3 separate regions of the Homo sapiens genome follow, and regions 1 and 3 are each linked to region 2. Evidence: promoter capture Hi-C in human tissues and cell types (Jung and others, 2019). All regions are on one chromosome and are shown on one strand. The core of a region is centred on a gene start or on the middle of the fragment in contact, and the rest is flanking DNA. Distances in the headings are between cores, read along the strand shown. Region 1 has its middle 300 kb from the start of LINC01935. Region 2 holds the start of POU3F3 (POU class 3 homeobox 3). Region 3 has its middle 15 kb from the start of LINC01935.

Evidence for each region. Contacts are between HindIII fragments. The study calls those that stand out against the background at their distance.
Region 1: a contact is called between a fragment that was not itself captured here and the fragment with the promoter of POU3F3 in region 2, in 1 of the 25 tissues and cell types used here (dorsolateral prefrontal cortex).
Region 3: a contact is called between a fragment that was not itself captured here and the fragment with the promoter of POU3F3 in region 2, in 1 of the 25 tissues and cell types used here (dorsolateral prefrontal cortex).

Annotation. Positions count from the first base shown.
Region 1 is chr2:103,283,177-103,286,653 of GRCh38, forward strand. No RefSeq gene overlaps it. Among named protein-coding and RNA genes, the nearest start is that of LINC01935, 300 kb to the left of the region's middle. The HindIII fragment of the contact is 6,261 bases long and covers 1-3,477 here.
Region 2 is chr2:104,852,155-104,855,948 of GRCh38, forward strand. POU3F3 (POU class 3 homeobox 3) reads left to right here and starts at 1,961. Exons shown (of 1, transcript NM_006236.3): 1 at 1,961-3,794. The coding sequence starts at 3,357. It also overlaps a transcript of PANTR1 not described here. RefSeq lists a silencer at 307-356 and an enhancer at 1,565-2,154. The HindIII fragment of the contact is 12,067 bases long and covers 1-3,794 here.
Region 3 is chr2:102,997,779-103,001,229 of GRCh38, forward strand. No RefSeq gene overlaps it. Among named protein-coding and RNA genes, the nearest start is that of LINC01935, 15 kb to the left of the region's middle. The HindIII fragment of the contact is 4,212 bases long and covers 1-3,451 here.

The DNA.
Region 1 (3,477 bases), core at 421-2,920, 1.6 Mb before region 2:
CTAAGAGCTTAACCCATCAAACATATGAATGACTTTGTCTTTGGTCCCCAATATTTCTCTAAAGCACACGTTAAGCCACCTTGCCCTATATCATGAAACTATTGCAGTGACAGGAACTGCCCTGTGCCCAACATCAGCAAAGTCATGCCTGGTCTCTCTCCAACCAGCTCTCAGATCTTTGTTGCCTTATGTCTGCAGAGCTCTGCACTGGGCATGAACTCAAAGGTTGTTGCCTTGCTGTTCTTCCTGACTTCTAGTACTCAACTAAAGGGCACTTTGGCAACTTTTCATATTCCTGGAAAGAGCTTAAGACTGGTTTAGTGTCCCTTGTCTAACTGAGTAACTCCAAAACCAAGAAAAACAGGCCATAGTGTTAACAACGTATTCTTGGGGACAGAGTAGACCAGAAAGATGACACTGAGAGGCTAACTCTAAGGCAAAGAAAACAGAATTGACGGCCATGCGTATTGGCTCATGCCTATAATCCCAGCACTATGGGAGGCTGAGGCAGGCGGATCACTTGAGCTCAGGAGTTTGAAACCAGCCTGACCATCATAGTGAAAACCCATCTCTACTAAAAATACGAAAATTAGCTGGGCATGGTGGCGGGTGCCTGTAATCCCAGCTACTCTGGAGGTTGAGGCAGGAGAATTGCTTAAACCTGGGAGGCGGAGGTTGCAGTGAGCTGAGATCGTGCCACTGCACTCCAGCCTGGGTGACAGAGCAAGACTCCAACTCAAAAAGGAAAAAAAAACAAAAACAAAAACAGAGTTGATGAGAAAGAGCAGAGGAAACAGGAGCACAGAATCACTGGGTTAAGGATGGGGAAGGATGGGGCGGGATGGGGACATATTGTGGTTATTGATCAGGTAGCAGGGTTGAAACAAGGGATAATCAGGTAAAAGTCAAGATAAATAACAGAGAAAACAAGTATTGGGAAAGTTAGTTGGTGGCTAGGCAATTACTTTTTGTCATAAAAAGTCCTGCAAATACTATGTAGTACAAAGAATCTAGGAAGCAATGCTGTTTTGTTTGTGTTAATGAGCACTGTCCAACAACAGCTGCTGAGAATCTCTCTCAGCTCCTGGCCATGAGGGTAGGAGAGTGTCCATGAAGTAGTTACACCACCTGTTGAATAAAGACAGTTGAATCTTCACAGTCAGCTCCCTCTCATTTTAGTCTGAAGAAAGTGCCTCTTCTCTTACCCCTATTGCTTACCTGAAACCTTGAGAACAAGTCAAAGGGGCAAAAAAAGAAGACATTCAATTGCTGTGTGTTATAATTTTCCTTGACAATTTGGTTGAGAAACATTGTTTGTTGCAGATCATGGGACAACCTTTTGAGACCACTTATATCCAAAGATCGAGTTGAGTGAGTGCTCTTTGGAAAGATGAGTAAGGATGGGAGTGAAGTTAGGACGCTTCACTTGTGACCATTGATGACTTAAGTTGCCAGTTCCCCTCCGTTAATGACAGATCACACTTGACAACATCCTGAGGCACAGAGTTCCATTTTCTGAAATTACCCAGGGCAGAAATTTACCCATTTAGCACTGTCATTCCTACTTTAAGTGGCCAAAAGGAAAGAAAATTTCTTTTTATCAGAAAACACTGAATTCAGTTATGGAAAATGAGTGAGCTTCATTCTGATAATGTATACGTGGTTACTGTTCAGGATCGCCTCTGGTGCCTGGTGTCAGTCAGCCACAGTGATGAGCATGAGGGCAATGAAACCCAGAGCAGTCAAAGAGATCCCTGCTCTTTTGCATTGGTGGCTATTGTCCAGTAGGGGCCAATCTGAGCTCTTGGATTTAGTTTAGAGAGGAGGCACTACGTGCATAGAGGCCAGAGAATGACACATTCGCTGGGTCAAACTTGCAGCTGGCTCAGGATTTTTAAATGAAATTTCAATTAAAATGTTGGTTTGGTGTTTTCATGCATTCAGGCAGGGAGTAATCACTTCTGTCCAGTTAAGAGAATAAATGGGGCATTTGTTTACCCAAATCAATAACAGCAACAGTAATTTGAAATCTTTGAAAATATTTATGCTGATAATGTAAGAGACTACATAGGTGTGAGTTGAAAAGTAAATATATAAAAATGGATAACATGCATCAGATACCCATGTTGGGAAAAAATTCCGTGTATTTTTTCTTGACATATTCAATATATCTTAAACAAGGGTTTACAATTACCGGTTCAGAAGCTTCCCCTGCCTTCTTTCCACCCAAAAACTTACAGAAAAGCAAAACTTTACTAACACAAATAAGAGCTCTGAACAGCATTTGAATTCCCATCACACCACACCTGGTAAGAATCAATCTACCAGAGCGTCATCAATCATGCTGAGGCTGTCAGTTTTGACATCCTTTAAGTGTACGTTGTGTGCTTAGTGACTACATGACAGAAAATGTAAACAGACACCACAAATACAGGTATTCAGTACATATATGTGTGTGTATGTTTGTATTTGAAATATTTGGTATAAAGAAGTACAAAAAATTACAGCACACAAAACTGTCCATTAAAACACACACATGCACACATGAATGCCTGCCTGCCTCTAAGAACAAGAATGAGAAAACAACAAACAGAACAAACAAAAACAAGCAATTTGTCACACAAAATCACAAAGCTCATTCAAATAATTTACCCAAAGCAAAACGAAGTAGATCAAGTAACTGATATCAGTGTGTGCCCACCGATGAATAGATTATATTCTTATTAGCCATCCCCTTCACCCTTCATGGTGACACATCAAATTGTGACTTACTAATAGGCATTCGGAAATAGCTGGTGAGCCCAGCACAAGCCCTGTATTAATAATTCATCAGGTGCAAAAAACATGATGGTGAAGTACTTGAATATTTGAAAGCCCATGTGCATTTTTGGTTCAAACACCACCACCACCAATGACAATCAACTCAGTTTCTAATTCTATTATTAGTAGATTGCTCATTTTAATTGATTTCAGGAGAAATGTTATTCTTTTGACAGCTTATTTAATATTATTATAGCATACCCCGATTATTGAGTTCAGCAATTTTTCTCATATTTCAGAAAAAGGTATCATTTGATGTTTTGCAAAGTGCCTATTTTGAGGGCTCAGTTACATATTTATACCTGTAAAAGCCTCCGGTTCCCTTTTCCCATCCTGTACATTTCCTCCTCCCAAACAGAGGTACAGATGTAAGAAAATTTGGAATGCTAAATGCAGAACAACAAAAATAAAAAACTCAGGAATTAAAACTCCAAATTGAACCACTCTCTTCCACAAAAGTCACAGAATCTGTTTTGCTGCCAATACATCGTTTTGGACTTTGAAATATAAGGTAAAGTTCAACTATTTTCTTTTATTTTTGTATTAATTTTCTCATCTCTAACTTAGTAGATTCAAGTGTAACAGTTTCTGTAAAACTGAATCATAGCAAGAAATGTAGTATTCAAGTTTCTTGAAATATTCTCAGGATGTCAGATT
Region 2 (3,794 bases), core at 711-3,210:
CCGCAGAGGAAAAAAATCCGTTCTGTTTGGGGTTTGGTTACCACCGCCTTTGGTATCTATACCTTGGCAATAATGGCTTTGCTAAAACCTACCTACGATGGTATCTCACCCGGCAAGCAGGAGCTGGACAAGAGCCTACATAAATTCTACGCGTCTAGTGTTAATCTTGAGATCACGCGGGGGCTGCCTGGCTGCGGCTGGGCAGGAGAACTCCTGCTTTCACTGAGTTCACTTAACTGCGCTCGGCAGAGGCACGATACAGCGGGAGAGAAGGGCAGGCCCGTTCACATTTTAATCGGAGCGCACCGGCGGCCGCTCCTCGGCTGCGTCCTGGGCTGCCGCTCGGGCTCGGGACTGCCAGATGCAGGCTCTGGCTGGGGGCGGCGGGCGCAAGCGGGCGCACCCGCAGCTAGGGGTGCGGGGTGCACGCACACGCACGCTCATTAAGAGCCATGTATTTATTGAATGTCCGAGTTGGGTTAGTTCATTGGAAATCCCCGAGGAGGGCTCAATTTGCCCTTGTTTTCGTTGCCACTTTCTCTTTTTTCTTGGTTCGCTGAGGTTCCTCTGTGCAGCGTTTCCGCTTGGCCGCGTCCCCCCACCCCACCCCACCCCACCCCCGCTTCTCTCGCCTACCGGGTGCACTCCCCCTCCCATCCCCCTTAACTCTTTCAGCTGGGTTAGAGCTGAGAAAGCATTTGTCGCCGCCAGCCCCATCCACCACGCAAATCCATCTGAGACAGAAAGGAAAGAAAAAAAAGCACCACCATGCCTAAGAATAGAGAGCGAGCAAACCCCCCCACCGCTAATCACACACACACACACACACACACACACACACACACACGAGGAAGCGGTGGAGCAGAGAAGGGCGCGGCTAGCCGATCCCGGTTCTTTCGCCCGGCTCCTGCTGCCACAGGGAATTCCTAAAGCCATTGGGGTCGAATACACTTACGATGAATCTATGGGGGAAGGTCGGACTGATTGCTTTTCAAATACATCGCACGGCTCCGCTGACCGGCACCCTCCAAACTCACAAGGGCACGCACGCTACTTGCACGAATCCCAGAGGAGGGAGGAGGGAGGAAGGGAGGGAGAGCGAAGGAGGGAGAGAGGGGGTGGAGGAGCCAGGGAGCGGCGGCAGCGAGCGGTCCGTCTCGCACGCGCGGGCACCGCGCTGGTCCTGGGCTGCAGGTTTCCCAGATGATGGCATCCGAGAACTTAAACAAAGGGGGCTGCCGCCGGCGCGCAACGGCTGCGGAAAGTTGCGGTGGCGGATTTCCAAGGAGCGTGGCCACGACCAGAGCTCTTGGCGATGCGAGCCCCCGCTTCCCACCCCCGCCGATCAGAGAAGGGGGCCGGCTGGTGAAGGGAAGAGGAAACTTTGAAACCACTGGGGACACATCTGTCTATAGGTATTAGCTTGAATGGTACATCCGTGCCGCGCGCTTTACAAATCTCTGGCGGGGCGGGGGTAAGGGGGTGAGCAACCCGACGCGTACTAGGTGGGGTGGGCAGGTTGCTATTTTTCATGTTTCCCCCTTCGTTTTCCTTCTGATTCTCTTCCCCCCTCTCGTCCCTCCCTCCCTTTTATCTCCCCTTTCTTCCCCCCGCCCAGACCTATTGCGAACGCCCAGAGCCGCCGAGGGAACGCCAACGTCTGGGCCGGACACTAAGAGTTAAGATGTGGCGGAGGGGGCGGCGGGGGAGGGGCGGGGAGGGGAAAGTGGTGAGGGGGAGGGAGGCTGGAGGACGACAGATTTCCAGCTTCTACGACGCTCTGCCTAAATTAAAAAGCAACCAATCGGAACGGCCGGAAGGGGGGCCTCGCGTCCTGAGCCAGTCATTCCGAGCCTGCCAATCACCCAGCGGGTAGCCAATCAGCGGGGGCCCTGGTGCTCGACTTCCTTGTATTTGGGAAAGTGTGGTGGTGGGTGCGCGCTCGCGGCGGAGGGTAAACATTCGACAGTCCCCGCTCTGAGAGGGAGGGACAGAGAGCGAACTGTCAGATCGGAGCGAGAGCGGGCGCCCGAGAGAGGGAGAGAGAGAGAGGGAGGGAGAGGAAAAGTGAGAGAGGGAAAGAGAGCGCGAACGAGGGCGCAGAGCGAGCTCCTGCTGCAACTCTGCTCCAGCACGGCCAGCGCCAGCGCCCGCCGTCGGTGCACTCTACGAGCCGTGCAGCGTGCCCACTGGAGTTGTTGTGTATCAAGGATCGATCCCCTATATGCACACACACACCTCCACCTCCACCAATGCACTCTTCTTCCTCCTCCTTCTCCAGACAACTGCTGGGAAAAAAATAAAACACCAACCCCAACCGTCAGCAACAAGGTAACAGAGCGATTCGACATCATTTTTTTTCCTGTTCAATTTTTTCCTTGTTATATTTGTTTCCTAATTTCTGCCCAAAAGGAAAGATGTCGCATCAGACTGTGACTGTTGCGAGGAGAATGAAAAAGGACTCTTGTTTCAGAGGCAACCAAGAGCTCCGGCAATAGCAACTTCAGAGAAATGCACCATCGCAAGAAGTTTTCCTAGGACAGAACAAAACTTGAAACGAGAGGACCAGAGGGGGAGAGCAGGAGCCAGCCTCCCCTCTCCGCACTCGCGAGCAGCCAGCAGCACCACGCCTTCAAGGACGAAAAAGTTTTACTACTCTAAGGGAAAACGAGTGAAATGTGTTCCTGAGGAGGAGAGGAGAGGAGAGGAGAGAGCGGACAAGAGAAGGAGCGGGCCGGTTGCTGGTCATCCGTAATTTGGCTAAGGAAGAAAGGAGCAGCTTCTTTCTTTGTTATCTCCCGTGAAACCTTCACTTAGCAGGTGGACGGAGCCCCGCGACCGGGCAGAGTCCGGGCTCGCCCGAGGACAGGAGGAGGAGCGGGAGCCCGCGCGTCCCGGGAGAGCGCCCCGAGTGCAGGTCCCCGCCCCGCCCGGCGAGCCCCGCTGGAGCGAGCCCAGCGCGCCGGGGCTGGGGGGCGGCCACGACCCCCCCTGAAGGGGGTGGCCACGGAGCGCACCCCGAGAAGCGAGCCCCCCTCCCCAGAGCGCTGCTCCTGCGGCTGCTGCTGCTGCTGGTGACCAAGGCCGGCCGGCGACCCCCGCGCCCTGCCGAGCGGCCTTGCAGCTGCAGCCGGGGGCCGCGGCGGCGGCGGCGGCGGCGGGGGCGGAGGCGGCGGCGGAGGAGGAGGCGGCGAAGGCGGCGGGGCCGGCGGGGGCCCGGGGCGGGGGCGGGGAAGGAGGGGGGGAGGAGGCGGGAGGCGGGGGGCGCGGCGGCGGCGGCGGCGGCGGCGGCCGCGGCTGCTGCTGCGGCGGCGGCGGCGGTGGTGGCGGCGGTGGGGTGGCGGGAGCGGAGCGGCATGGCCACGGCGGCTTCTAACCCCTACCTGCCGGGGAACAGCCTGCTCGCGGCCGGCTCTATTGTGCACTCGGACGCGGCAGGGGCTGGCGGCGGCGGGGGTGGCGGCGGCGGCGGCGGCGGGGGCGGCGCAGGGGGCGGGGGCGGCGGCATGCAGCCGGGCAGCGCCGCCGTGACCTCGGGCGCCTACCGGGGGGACCCGTCCTCTGTCAAGATGGTCCAGAGCGACTTCATGCAGGGGGCCATGGCCGCCAGCAACGGCGGCCATATGCTGAGCCACGCGCACCAGTGGGTCACAGCCCTGCCCCACGCCGCCGCCGCCGCCGCCGCTGCCGCCGCCGCCGCCGTGGAGGCGAGCTCGCCGTGGTCGGGCAGCGCCGTGGGCATGGCTGGCAGCCCCCAGCAGCCACCGCAGCCGCCGCCGCCACCGCCGCAGGGC
Region 3 (3,451 bases), core at 349-2,848, 1.9 Mb before region 2:
TTTTTAAATTTACATCAGTTTCTTTTTTATATCATCTTCCTCTTCTTTGAAGTTTTGTTTAATATTTATTGCAAGGCAGGTCTACTAGCAAAAAATTTGCCGCATGTTTGTTTGTCTAACAAAGTATTTGTCCTTCATTTTACAGTATAAGTTCATACAGTACAGAATTCTAGGTTGGTGAGTTTTTTTCTTTTCATGCGTTAAGTGTTTCTCTCCACTGTTGTCTTATTTGCATGGTTTTTGAGAAGTCAGACATAATTCTAATCCTTGCTTCTCTATAGGTAAAATGTTTTGTTTTGTTTTACGCTTCATATTATCTGAGTTCCTGGACCTGTGGTTTTCCGTCTGTTATTAATTTGGGAAAATTGTGCCTTTGGGGGAATTTGTTGAGCTTATGGGATCACTGTCATACATGTAGGCTGTCTTTGACCACAATGTCATTTTGTGATGCATAGGTGTAAATATATATGCTTATATGTAAGTGAAATGAATAAAAGCAATGATCCAGGGACAAAAGGAGGAATGAGGAATATTTTGTCATTATTGCTTTAAATGTTGCTTCCCTTTCTTTCTCTCTTAATTCTTTTTCTGGTGTTCCCATGAGTCATTTGCTACATGTTTCGTAGCTGCTCTGCAATTCTTAGATACTCTGACTTTTTGTTTTTCCCCTCTTTTTCTCAGTATTGTAAGTTTCCATTGTGATGTCCTCAAGCTCAGAGTTTCTTTCCTTACCTGTGTTTATTCTACTTATAAACTCATCAAAAGCTTTATTTTTGTTACAGTGTTTTTGATCTCTAGCATTTGTTTTTTATTGGCATGTCTCTGCTTACCTTATCCATCTGTTCTTTCATGTTGTCTACTTTTTCCATGAAAGCCCTTAGCATGTTAACCATAACTTAACAAAATTCCTGGTTTGCTAGTTCTGACATTCCTGCTGTATCTGACTCTTGTTCTGATGCTTGTTCACGCTGTTCAACTGAATTCATTATCTTTTAATATGCCTTGTAATTTTCTGTTGAAAGATGGACATTAAATACTTGATAAAAGAAGAATAGGCATTTAGCAATATAGTGGTAAGGTGTGTGAGAGGGGAAGTGTTTTACGGTCCTATGATTAGGTTTCAGTCTTTTCATAAGGCTCTGTCTCTGGACTGTGATTTTCACAAGTTCTTCTCAGTTCTCTCCCATCCTTAGGTGGGACAGGATGGCTAGTGGGGCCTGGAGTTTGACATTTCCCTTTCCCCAAGTAAGTTAGGTTCTAACAAAACTCCAGAAAGTTTGGTTCTGACTGAGTAGTTTCTGCTGAGGGCATATCTTGTTAAGGAGCACAGTATGCTCTGGGGCAGGGACCCCCAACCACTGGGCTGTGGAGTGGTACCAGTCCGTGGCCTGTTGGGAACTGGGCTGCACAGCAAGAGGTGAGTGGCAGGCAAGGGAGTATTACTGCCTGAGCTTTGCCTCCTGTCAGATCAGCAGCAACATTAGATTCTCCTAAGACTGCAAACTCTATTGTGAACTGCTCATGTGAGGGATCTAGGATGTGCGCTCCTTATGAGAATCTAATGCCTGATGATCTGAGGTGGAACAGTGTCATCCCGAAACCATCCCCACACCTCATCTGTGGAAAAATTGTCTTCCACAAAACCAGTAGGTGCCAGAAAGGTTGGGGACTGCTGCCCTGGGGTGTTCAAAAATGGTTACTTTACCTCTGCTCCTGCTAGAATCCTGAGAAGATTTTTCTCTGATATTCACAATGAGAATTTGATGGTGTCTCAGGAGATAAAACCCACAAAAGTGTGGGAGCCCCACATGATTTTGTTTTAATTAAGAAAATTTTAATTTAGACAAATTTAGGAAGAGAATACCACCTGGATGTATTCTGTGCTACTGCCAAGGTTATAGAGAAAAACAGTAGAGGTTGATAATGTCCACGTACCATTCCGAAATCCCTGATTATTAGAGTAGTGAGAACTGGGATGGAATTTTAAAATCTTTTTAAAAAATTTAAGATTAAGAAAAGAAAATTTTAAGAGGCAGGGTCTTCCTCTGCCACCCAAGCTGGAGTGCAATGGCATGATCATAGCTCACTGCAACCTCAAACTCCTGGGTTAAGGAGATCCTCTTGCTTCTGCTCCCCGTAGTAGCAGGGATTACAGGTACATGCCAGTATGTCAGCTTAAAGAAAAAAAAAAAGTGCAGAGACAGGCTTTCACTTTGTTGCCCGGGCTGGTCTGGAACTCCTGGCTTCAAGCAATCCTGCCTTAGCCTCCCAAAGTGCTGGGATTACAGGCATGAGTGACTGCGCCTAAACCCCGCAGGACTTTTTAACTTTCAGATTTGCTCACAGAGTCCTCCAGAAATTAGTTGCTTAATTTCCTTACCCTGGCACTGGTTTCGACTTGTGGTTTCTGCTCAGGTTAAGTTGTGATTCTCTGTATTCACCTGTTTGTTTGTCCAATTCAGAGGTGGAAGTTTGTCCTGTGACTTCATTTCTCTGACTTATCTAAGAAGAGTTGTTGATTTTTCAGTTTTATCTGCTTTTTATTTCTTACGAAGGAGTGGTAACTTCTAACCTTCTTACACACTGTATCTAAAGCACAAACAGTTGTGTTTTAGTACTGGAAGTTCTATATTTCTGGAAACGTCTTAGTTCTGGATACACTAGGATAGTTAGCTACCCTAGGAATATAGCATAATTTATTTACCCATTTTAATTCAACATAGCACTGAAGTACTAACAAGAGCAATTAGGCAGAGAAAGAACTAAAAGGCATCCAAATAGGAAAAGAGGAAGTCAAAGTGATTCTCTTTGCAGACTAAATGATCTTATATAGAAAAAACCCTAAAGACTCCACCAAAAAACTCTTAAAATTGATAATGAAGTCAGTAAAGTTGCAGGATACAAAATCAACATACAAAAATCAGTAGCAGCTGGGCGCAGTGGCTCATGCCTGTAATCCCAGCACTTTGGGAGGCCAAGATGGGCAATCACTTGAGGGCAGGAGTTCGAGACCAGCCTGGACAAACAGGCGAAACCCCTTCTCTACTAAAAATACAAAAACTAGCTGGGAGTGGTGGCAGGCTTGTAATCTCAGCTACTCAGGAGGCTGAGGCAGGAGAATCGCTTGAACCCAGGAGGCCGAGGTTGCAGTGAGCCGAGATCAGCCACTGCACTCCAGCCTGGGTGACAGAGCTAGACTCTGCCTCAAAAAAATAGAAATAAAAATAAAAATAAAAATCAGTAGCATTTTTATACACCAATAATGAACTTGCTGAAAAAGAAATCAAGAAAGCAATCCCATTTAAAATAACTACAAAAATAAAATAAAATACCCATAATAAATTTAACCAAGGAGGTGAAAGACCTCTACAATTAAAAGTATAAATCACAGATGAAAAAATAAATCAAGATGACTCAAACAAATGAAAAGGCATAAGATGGTCATGGACTG